Regions from separate parts of the Homo sapiens genome. Here region 2 is linked to region 1. The links are contacts of gene promoters, found by promoter capture Hi-C in human tissues and cell types (Jung and others, 2019). All regions are on one chromosome and are shown on one strand. The core of a region is centred on a gene start or on the middle of the fragment in contact, and the rest is flanking DNA. Distances in the headings are between cores, read along the strand shown.

Region 1 (5,747 bases), core at 1-2,500:
TGGATCAAAGCAGACATGCGGCCGGCGCTCTGCGATCCAAGGCACACTGGGGTCTTTCATCCGGTGTTTTTAAAAAGGAGGAAACAAAAGGCTCAGAGGCAGGGCCCCAGGTGCGCTCGCCCGCGGGGGCTGCGGCGCGGACGACCGAAGGTAACAGGCACGTCCCGGCCGAACTTCGAGACCCGGGCCCGGCAGCCGCCCCGGCGGGGAAGTTTCGTTTCCCGGACAGGGGAAGCCGAAGCGCCTCCTCGGGACAGGACCCCGCGCCGCCGGGACGCGCAGCCTTGATACAAACGTCCTTGGGTGGCCGAGGAGTCCAGGAGTCGTTGCAGTCGTGGTCTCGGGGTTACTGGGGATTGGGGGTGAGCCGGTAGAGACTGCGGAGCCCCGAGCACCACTCGGCCACCAGACAGGACCGGGGCCCCGCTCCTTTCCTCTTTTACTTTGATTACGGTTGGAGAGGTTGGGTTTTGTGGTCGCAGCCCCACCTCGCCTGACCTCCCATTCGCGGGCTGGGACAAAGGCGGCTGCAGCCGTGTCCAGCAGGCAGGGGACAGCCCCGCGCGGGCCCGACGCCCCCTCTGACCACCCGCCCGGGCTCGCGGGAGGGGAGAAAGGTACGACCGAGTCCCTGTTCGCAGGACAGGGGCCAACCTGTCCCCGCACGCGTCAGGACACCCGGTCCTGCTCCCAGCGCGGCCGGGAAGTTCTTTCGGGACCTGGGGCAAAAAAACCTTTCCACCTTCGGGACCCGAGTCTCCCAGTCGTCCAGAGGAGGACGGTCCCTCCCTGTCCCGCGAGCCCCGCAGCCCGCGCTCTCCGGGCAGGTACCCACCAGTAGCCGTCCGAGTTCTGGTCGGTGATCACGCCGCGCCGAGAATAGTACATCCTGCTGGTGCCCCCGCCGCCGCTGGTCACCTCGTAGCGCAGGTCCGGGCCAGACTCGGCGCGGATCATGCGGCCCAGAGTGTTGATCCGCGGGTGGGAGCCTCCGTTGCAGCTCATGTCGGCGGGCAATCGGGAGAGCGGCTCAGCGCCGAGGCATAAGCGAGGCGGGCCGGCGCGGAGAAAGCGGAGGGGGCCAAGGATAGGCGGACGGCCGGGGAACCGGGCGGGAGTGCGGAAGGCTCGCGAGGTCGCTGCTCGCTACCTGGGCCCTCCCGAGGCCGCTGCGAGCGCGGAGACGGCGACGGGCCGGGGGCAGGAGCGGGAGGAAAGCTGTGGCTCGGAGGGCGGCAAGGGCGCAGAGGAGCTGCGTCGGAGCTGGGTGTTGGTGTTGGTCGGCGGCGGAGCGAGTCTCCTCCCCGCTGGCACTGGGCGCCTAGGCCACACCTGGCCGGTTTCTTCCCAGGGTGGGGTGCGGCCGCCGCGCCTTCCCCGCCCCCCCGCGGGTGTCACCGACGCGCTCCGGCCGCCCCTCCCCACCTGCGCCCGCCGCCCGCGACTCCGCCCTGCGCCACCGAGGCCTGAGTAACACCGGGCGGGGCGGGGGCGGGGTCCCCGAGACCCAAGCGCCCTGGGCGAAGCCACCGCGGGGAGGACCTGCGCTCGCGGGGGCTGCTGCGCTCTGCGCTGGGGCCTCTCGGGCTGGGAATGCGTGGCCCGGCTTTTGAGGATTTCCTCGGTCCCCGGGCGGAAATAGCTGGAATGGAGGGGCCTCTCGATTGGAGACTTACTGGTCAAATATTTACTTTTGTTGATCACTGGAAACGCTACCTACCACGCATTGACTAGGACCACAGTGAGGAGGGAACGCTTTAGATGATAGAGTTTTGTTTGGGGGCTTTTTTTTGTTTTGTTTTATTCCAGGAATTCAGGAAATTGCCCCAGAAGTCCGATTTCTGATGTGTAAAACCTTTTTTTACAGAAAACCACGACTTCCTGGAAAAGTCTTCACCGTAAATATTAATCTCTTTGGCATGAAGAGGAAAACACTGCAGCTAATTTTTCATGGGATAACAAAAATATAAACTGCAATTTCTTTTATTTTTTCCCTTTCGATGGTCTTTTTAAACGAGGAGTAAAGATTTCAACGCCAGGTCCATTTTCCAAATTTTGTACCAGAACCTTGAGGATGCTTGTCTCTCGCGCGCTTCTCCGCAGACCGAACCCTCTCCGGAACTCAGAGCTGTTCACCCAAGTCAGCGGAGGAGGCCTCCTGGGACTTGAGCCTGAGGGTGGCGAAGAACCCTAGGCAGAGATCATCAACTTGGTACCGATGAGTGACGCGGAGCTTGAACATTCCAGCGACTTGCTCCAGGGCCACTCCCAGTTAAGAGGCTGAGTGTTAACTGCAAGAGGCTGAGTGTTAACTACGCCGTTGGCTCCAGGAACCGAACCGGGTTTGGATACAGACCCAGTCACACCATCCATGAAAAGCTGTTTCTATAATATGAAAAATTGTTAAATGACGCTTTAGTAAAAGCCATTTAAAGATCTTTTCTAATAAATTTTTCATCTTTCCAAACAATGCCGCTAATTACCTTCTGATACAGTGCGTTTCCAAAATGTTTATGAACTGAAAACAAAAATAAAAAACTACATTTTTATGTTGTAAAGGGAGTGGGGGGGACTTTCTAAAATTTGTCGTATTATAGCACTTCTCATGACAACTTGACCCTTTAGGCATAATTTTTGACAAAATGTCTTGTTCTTTTTCTTTTTACAGCTGAACGTCTTAAATTCAAGGAGTAAACACATATAATGAGATAAAAGTTTATCACTGTTAGCACAACCAATAATTTGCATCGTAGTCTCAATTTCCTCGAATCTTTAATAAAACCAAAGTGGTCAAGTGTTTAAATGATTATACAGATTGAGTACCCCTTATCCAAAATGCTTGGGACCAGAAATATTTTGGATTCTGGATTTTCTTGGATTTTGCAATAGTTGCATAGACGTAACGAGAGATCTTTGGGGATGGAACTCAAGCCTAAACATGAAATTTATTTATGTTTTCTATATGCCTTATACACATGGCCTGAAGGTAATTTTATACAATATTTTAGATAATTTTGTGCATGAAACAAAGTTTTGACTGCACTTTGACTGCAAGTCATCACATGAGGTCAGGTGTGGAATTCGCCACTTGTGGTCATCATGTCAGTGCTCAGAAAGTTTGGATTTGGGAGCATTTTGGATTTCAGATTTTCAGATTAGGGATGCTCAACCTGTACAAACACTGATCTATAGACAAGACGGTGGTTTTTCTCAAACAGAATCAATGGCTGGAAGTCAGCCTCTGCACAAACAGCCCATAATATCCATTGGTGGAGGAGAGAAAGACATGCATGGAGGGAAAATGTCAGTGCATAATGTACAACATTTCATTTAGGATGTTTTCCCTCTATGCATCTCATTTGTTCAGCAAATAATTATAACCTAGGATATGGAAATACTCTGCAACATACAAAGATAAATAGGGTCCAGTCACTGCCCTTAAATATATTATAGTAAAACTTTGATTTAAGAAATTCAGGGGCCCGTGCGGTGGCTCATGCCTGTAATCCCAGCACTTTGGGAGGCAGAGGCGGGTGGATCACTTGAGGTCAGGAGTTCGAGACCAGCCTGGCCAACATGATGAAACCCCATCTCTACTAAAAATACAAAAATTAGCTGGGTGTGGTGGCAGGCGCCTGTAATCCTAGCTGTTTGGGAGGCAAAGGCACGAGTATCACTTGAATCCAGGAGGTGGAGATTATATTGAGCAGAGATCGTGTCATTGCACTGCAGCCCAGGTAACAGAGCAAGACTCTGTCTCAAAAAAAAAAAAAAAAAAAAAATTCAGGGATTATTCTTCCCTAATGTGTAATAAAGAGGCTACACAATTGCACGGTAGAATTATCCTTTTAAAAAAAACCCACATATCTATTAACCACCCCCCCAGTGGTAACAAAAGCTCTTGTTAGCCAAGGGTCCCCTTACGGTCATAGGAACCAGGCTCCACACAGACCCAAACACCACCCAGACTCACAAAACTGTTCAATCTGCAGGCAAAACAGAGGAGGAGGCGAAGAGCCCACGCCACCAATCACACCTCTGGCTGCGTTGCTTCCTCACCCATCTTACTGCTTCCTGGGCTTTTCCAGGCATCCCCAAGAACACGAACGGCTTCCAGCTACCAAACATGCCTGCTCTAGGAAGACAGTGGCTTTCATTTATCTTTCTCTAAGGGTGATAAAGAAAGATAAGAGGATAAAATAAACAGATTGACATGCCCGACAGATGGAACACCCCCCACCTCAACACACACCCACACACATGCACATACACACACACACACATCAGTTGTCCAGGTTGGCTCATCACACAGTGAAGAGCGAGGATAACTTGCCCATAGTTATAATCTTAGTGCTACAATTTACTTATGCAAGAGCTCAATTTCTTCATGTGTATAATGGAAATAACACTTGCTCTGCCAACCTTCCAAATCCACAGTGAGGGTCAAATGAGATAAAATACGTGAACATTCTTGAACACTGTGAAACATATAAAGCTTAAGGTACCACCTGTTAAGCCAAAAGTTCTTTGCTGGATGCGAAATTTTAACCGTTAATGTTCCTGTCTTTATCCCACATGTAAATCAGTAAACCTCCCTCTTGGACACATTTAAGATGCATTCATTTAGAAAGCAGTTATTGAACATCTACCATGTTACACAACAGATTCAATGCTAGACACATGAAGATGAATAAAGCATGACTCTTTTTCTGCAGGATATCAAAGTCTGCAGTAGTAAAACAAATAATTACAATACAACATTAAGTATGCTATAATGAAGGTATATTTATAGAATTTTGAAAGCGCAGCAAAGAGGTTTAAAAGTAGCTTGTTTTCTTACAACTTGGTTTAAAAAATCAGAATCCAAAGTCTGGCAGAGTCTTCACTGGCTGACCTAAGGTCAGCTATTTTTTCCCTGCCACTCATAGATAGCTCCCCTTGTACTGATAAAACAGATCACTGACAGGCAACTTTCTCTCTGGCTGACCTTAGAAATCACCTTGCAGTTAGGAAAGACGAATCAGTCATATTCAGAGCAGATTTTTAAAAGAAAACGACACTTTGATTTCAGTGAGATTAAGAAGAATCATTTACTTGCTCAAAATCCCATGGGAACTCTCTATATCTTTGTGTTGGTAAATGATACCTCTTCATCACAAGAAGATTTATAGCCCATGAGTTAAAATAACTGTTCTGCCTAACAGAGGAGTAGTTCTGGGGTTTTTGTTTTGTTTTGTTTTGTTTGAGACAGAGTCTCACACTTGTCGCCCAGCCTGGAGTGCAGTGGCATGATCTTGGCTCACTACAACCTCTGCCTTCTGAGCTCAAGTCATCCTCCTGCCTCAGCCTCCCCAGTAGCTGAGACTATAGGCGCACACCACCACACTGGACTAATTTTTGTATTTTTTGTAGATACAGGATTTCACCTTGTTGCCCAAGCTGATCTGGAACTCCTGGGCTCGAGCAATCCACCCACCTTGGCCTCCCAAAGTGCTGGGATTACCGGCATGAACCACAGTGCCCGGCCAAGGAGTAGTATTTTAATAAGTCAAAATTACAGGCAGAAGCTAGGATTGGAACCATAATGTGAAGGAAAAGAAAATGCCTGTTAAAATGTCAGACAATTAAAATCTTAATAATAAAATGGATATGTATATTTTACTCTTTCTTTTCTCTTCCATTTGTCTGAATAAATTAGAATCCTCCAGAAATAATGAATCTAGGATCTGAATTATCACAAAAATAAG
Region 2 (5,747 bases), core at 2,307-4,806, 42 kb before region 1:
GAGTGCTGTGGAGGAAAAATAGCCCATGCAATGAGAATGGAGGTGACTTTCACCCTAAGTACCAAAAGCCCCCAATAATTAATCTAATCTTGATTTTTGTTCTATACAATTAGCATGTTTTCCTATTTTCTATCTGTACTATAAAATTTGTATTAATATATACTGCTGACATTTGAAAGTTGTCCCACTGATTGCTTTATCTGTTTCTGTCCCCACCCATATTGCCAATGCTTTGTTGTCGGGGGCTTGTAAATTCTACTCAGTCTTCATAGTACCTAACCCAATACTAGACATGGTGGGTATTCAGTGAAGTCATGTTAATCTAATGACAAATGTGTGAATTTCAGTAGTTTCTCTTTGATCCAAAGGAATAGGCTTATACTTCCTTGTCCTTCAACAGAGAGCCAAGAACTCTTCAGAAATCATTTTCATGGGTTCCAGGACAATTCTTTCCTCTTACGGGACAAAGTGAAACACTATCTATTTTGAGGATACCCAAAAAGCATCTTAGCAACTTCATGTTTTTTCAATGCTATGATGATGACTTTTGCCAATGCTACTTGGTACTCAATGTCCAGAATAAACTAGAACAGGTTATTGACCTCCAGGCTGGCCTCTTTACACAGGCCTTCTTTCCAAGGACTCCATCGGGTACATGACAGGCATCTGAGAAGTACCGAAAGGACTAACTTCAAAAGACCACCTTCTAGTAAGAATTCAGAACCAAATAGTTTTTTAATGGTATTTCTTCACAGGTATTTAGTAAACAAATATTTTTAGACCTATGATAAAAATATGCTAAATGTTTATACATGCTTATAAACATATTAAATTAAAACACAAACACTTCAAAAGTCTAAAAGTTTATTGCCAGAATAGCAAACTTCATAAAGACACCTTAAAGTACATCGAATATGACAAGCAAAATAAACAGAAAACTTTGACCAAAGAAAAGATTGCCGCTGTCATGCACAGTCAAATTAATACCAAACCAAACAAGTACATCGAAGAGTATATGGGTTATACAATCCACACTCTGAAACTAAAGGAGACTCATTCCAAAATGCTTGGTTTTGGGTTGGGGGTTTGAGAGGGGGGCTGGTGCTGGGAGGGTAATTTTCTCCTAATACAGAATATGGAAATATTTAGATGAGAAGCAGAATGACTAAAATATCAGTGATCCATTTAATTTTTATCTCCAAGAATAGAAAACTGTATTATAGGCTTCCAAAATTAAAGAATTGATCAAAAATCGAAACACAGAAGAGAAGAAACAAATCCTAAGTTCGATTTGTGCTATTGTTACAACTGATTAGCACTTCAGACGCACTGCATCCAAGTGTACTGCTTATTTAAGATGAGCTAAGAAGATAAAAAGCCAGAACAGCCTTTACTATTTGATTTCAATCATGGCTATATTTTCTGTAAGCATAGAATGTCCTATCACTCTACTGCAAGCACCGGGATTTTCTTTTCTATTATTTAATAAAGTGGAAATTCATATAAATGAAGTCAAGGTATAGCAACCACTCCCAACTGACTACTAGTGCCCAATAGAACTACTGCTAAATGAGTAGGAATAAGAGTAGGAAGAATTCCCTGTGGCGTCAAAGCTTCCTCTCCGGGACCCACTGCGGGACCCGGAGCGAGATCCGGAGCGAGATCCCGAGCGGGAGCCGGAGCGGGACCCCGGAGCCGAAGACATGTTGTAAGGGCTGGGTAAGCCCTTGGACGACACGGAGGCGGCTTCCAGAAGGCGCAGCCCAGTGATATCTTCTACCATGGAGCGATTTATGGCATCCTTATAGGATATTTTTAATTTGGTTTTGGGGCAGGTCAGGATTTTGGCATAGCTGCTGGTGTCTTGCAGCCTCTGTGCGGCGCGGCCATCTATGAACCCCTTCCGGATGGCTTCTTCGGTGCTTATCCTCCCATGCACTTCCGGGTCAACAAGACCTCCCGTGAGGTACTGGAACTCCAGGAAGCGCTGGCCAGCCTCATACGGGAGCCATTTTTCTTTCACTGCCTCTGCTGCTGACATCTTCTTCTTTCCCTTCACACCCTCGAAGCCTATGAAGGCTTTCTGAGCAGGCTTCAGCCTGGTGGCCATGTCTTGGTCAATCACACCCTGGGAGACTGCGTCCTGAAGTGACAGCTTCTGGCCCGTGGTTGGGTGGATGATGCCACCTGTGCAGGCCTGAGCCTCCAGAAGCCTCTGACCCGTGATGCTGTCAACGATGCCCCGCTCTATACCTTCTGTAATGGAGATTTTCTCCAGGTTTTCTGTGTCAAAGATGGCTGCAATGGGGCTCGATTCTTCCAGGGTGTCTGAAAAAGAGCTGCTCCTTATGGTTAAATTCCTGACGCTGGATATGGTGGAAATCTTACTTACTGATTCATGTCGGGAGCTGCTAAAAACATCATCGCTGACACCACTGCCCATGCTGCTGCTGGTGCCGACACCATTTTTCAAGGAGATCATGTCAGCAAATTGAGTGAGGCTGAGGCTGCCGGATCGGTACTGATCAAAGAACTTCCTGTCAACAAGGCCCTTGTCAATAGCATCTTGAATATCATACTGACTGCCTGTCTTTCTATCTACCAGGACCACCCTGGTGGAGCCATCTGATCCCGTGATGGTTATTTCTTCCCATTCACATTCCTGCTCACACAGTTCTTTGAAGGTTTCATAATCAATTAGGCCCTTCTTGTAGGCCTCCTGAACAGACATTTCTTTATTGGTTTCTGGGTCAACTATGACCACTCTACGCTTCCTGAGGGTATTCTTTTGTGATGTCTGCACCTGTTTCTTCTTTTCTTTCAGAGGCAGAAGACAGAGCCCTGTTTCCTCATCCTTAATGCATCTTTCTTTTAGTTGCAGATAGGTAAGATTTTCTTCAGTGTTGGGGTCAAAAAATCCTTTGGTATCATCACTTGGATCTGAGAGAATCTCACTGAGTTCCTCATTGAAATAGCCCCTCTTATATGCTATGTCAACTGGTAAACGATGGCTCTCCTTTGGGTCAATGATCCCCCCGGTTGCGATCTGTGCTTCTAATAAGCGAATACCGTGGCCCTTTTCGATGAGTTCCTTATTCATGGCTTGGAACAAAGAGATGATGTTTCCTGTTTCAGGATCATTATACCCAGTGACAGCTCGTTCTGCAGACAGGAGCTTCTCTTTGAACTCAATGCCCACCAGACCTCTCTTGTAGGCTTCCTCCACTGGTAACCTCAAGTTGCTAACAGGATCCACTATAAAGCCAGTAGCTGCTTGGGCTTCCAGCAACTCCAGAGCAGTACCAGGTCGGACTAAGCCAATTTTCATGGCCTCATAAATGCCAAGCTTCTGTTTTGTGGTCTCATTGTATATGCCTGCTATGCAGCTTGAACCCTGGAGGAAGTCCTTAATTCTCTCACCAACCTCGTCATAAGAAATCTGACCAGATTCCAGTTCATTGACAGTGGACGGTCTCAATATACCAGAATCTACTAGCTCAGTGACGGTCACAGGTTGTCTGATTCCTTGGAAGGACATGCTTCTCTTCTGTACTGAAAGCAAGAGCAGACCAGTATGTGGTTCGATTCTGCACCGTTCCTTCAGCTGCACGTAACTGACCTTCTTTTTGGTGACTGGATCCACAAAGTTTTTCTGACTATCTCGGGGATCATTCAGGGATCGATACAAATCTCTATCAATCAGCCCCCGGGCCAAGGCGACATCTTTTGGCAAAAAGACACTGTTCACAGGGTCTACTACACCCCCTGAAGCAATCTGGGCTTCCAGCAGGCGCATTCCGGTTTCTCTATCAATCAAATTTTTCTTGATGGCTTCTGAAACAGATACTGTCTTGCCTGAAAATGGATCATCAAAACCAGTGATAGCTTTTTCTGCTGCATATATCTGCTGACGGTCATCGAAGTCAATGAGGTCCCGAGCTATGGCACTGTCGACAGTCAGCTTCTCATTCCGATGGGGATCAATTATACCACCTGTAGCTGCCTGGGCCTCCAGAAGCATGACTGTGGATTCTGGGCTGATTAATTTCTTTCTCTTGGCCTCTACCAAAGAGTATTTTTCCTTAGGAGAAGCAGATGCTCCAGCGATAGATCCTGCACCCCGAAGGAATGGCTGGATTTCAGAAGCAACTTCTTCCACTGACTTCTTCCCCTTCAATAGTTTGTCCAAGGTTGTTTTGTCGATCAGCTGACACTCATAGAGCTGCATTGCTGTCACCTTCTTCCTCAGCCCATCAAACACCAGCTTGGAGGTGTCAACGGTCCACTCACACTCAGTCTGGGTCTCTCGATGGGACCCATATGGGCGCTGTCTGAGTTTATCAATCTCCCTCTGATATCGGGAGCGTTCTGTTTCTAACTGTGACTGTGTCTCCCTGGTAGAATCCTCCAGCTTACGCCTGCACCTCTCTTCAATTCTCTTGATCTCTGCTTGGAGTCTTTCGATCTCACTCCTAAGACTGTTCTTCTCTCTCTCACTCTTTTCTCTTTCCGATTCTATCTTCCTAATAGCCTCCTCCTTGCGGGAATATTGAGTCTTCCACTGATTCAGGTCATTCTGAATTTGCTGTTTCTCACACTCCAGGCGCTGTTTCACCCTGGTTTCTGCCTCTAGAGTTGATTTTGCACGATTCAGCTCATCCTCCAGCCTCTGCAGCCTTGCCTTGTCTTGCTCCAGGACTTTGATTTTCACCAGAAGGCTCTCTCTTTCCTGTACCACCTGAGTACACTGATTCTTTGATTCCTGAATCCTATTAGATGCCTGGAATTGAAGAAGAAAGAAATGGGAAAAAATAATGTTTTGAATCATATCATATTACTATCACGACTTAACTTTCTTTTGTGTATCTATCTTTAAAAAAAAAAGCCTTGCTTATTTTTTCTTTCTATATTGTCCCTGGATACACTGTGAGCTTGTTATTTTACAAATTTGTGGGAAAAATTCTGTATATGTTGCCACTTCAATAAATGGCTTCATACTTACTATTTTTTTCTATAGAAGGAACTGTAAGTTGCAGACCTGTCTTACTCTTAACAATAATTATGCTTTGAAAAAATGTGGGGAGTTTTGTTTCAGGTTATCATACCTGCTACACCTACATCTCACCTGTTACAGCTAGATGAACATACTTAATGAAGCAATACAAATATATGAAGATATATATTATATAAAATATATATTATAGATAAATATATATTATGTAATTATATAATTATATATATAATATATAGATATACACACACACACACACACACACACACACCAACCCAGCCACACACAAATATTGTCTGTAGAAGTTAAATAAGTTATTTTTAAATTAAGGGTTAGGAGAAGGAAAGTCAAACAAAAGGAAACACACTAGGGCCATGATCAAAAGCGAACACTAAATAATCCATGCAAAAAAATCATCTAAGCAGGCAAAAGAAAAAGTGTTTTAAAAATTGCATAGGGAAACACTTTAGTATGGCTTCTATTTAAGAAAATTTTCATTACAAATGTATGTCATAGCTCACTAAATAAGAGCTAACTTCTAAGAAGTAGAATGGAACATTCGGAGGAAGTTATACATGTATTAGTGTTCTTAAAAGCAGGGCCAAACACAGGCTACCCAGAGATCAGCATTTGATGCAATTAAAGAACAGCAGGGCACACAGCATTGAAATTATTTTAAAGCAGTTACCTGGATTATGACAGGAAGTAGTAGAGCAATAAAAAGAAAAATTAGATT

What was found. The method cuts DNA at HindIII sites, captures the fragments that hold promoters and counts their contacts. A contact is called where the count stands out against the background at its distance.
Region 2: a contact is called between a fragment that was not itself captured here and the fragment with the promoter of DSP in region 1, in 1 of the 25 tissues and cell types used here (ovary).

The regions. Positions count from the first base shown.
Region 1 is chr6:7,537,174-7,542,920 of GRCh38, reverse strand. DSP (desmoplakin) reads right to left here and starts at 1,250. Exons shown (of 24, transcript NM_004415.4): 1 at 836-1,250. The coding sequence starts at 1,005. DSP-AS1 (DSP antisense RNA 1) reads left to right here. Exons shown (of 2, transcript NR_183331.1): 2 at 1,868-2,470. RefSeq lists an enhancer at 3,262-5,747. The HindIII fragment of the contact is 11,377 bases long and covers 1-5,595 here.
Region 2 is chr6:7,581,675-7,587,421 of GRCh38, reverse strand. DSP (desmoplakin) reads right to left here. Exons shown (of 24, transcript NM_004415.4): 24 at 708-4,780. The coding sequence ends at 1,544. Among named protein-coding and RNA genes, the nearest start is that of SNRNP48, 5.6 kb to the left of the region's middle. The HindIII fragment of the contact is 7,043 bases long and covers 35-5,747 here.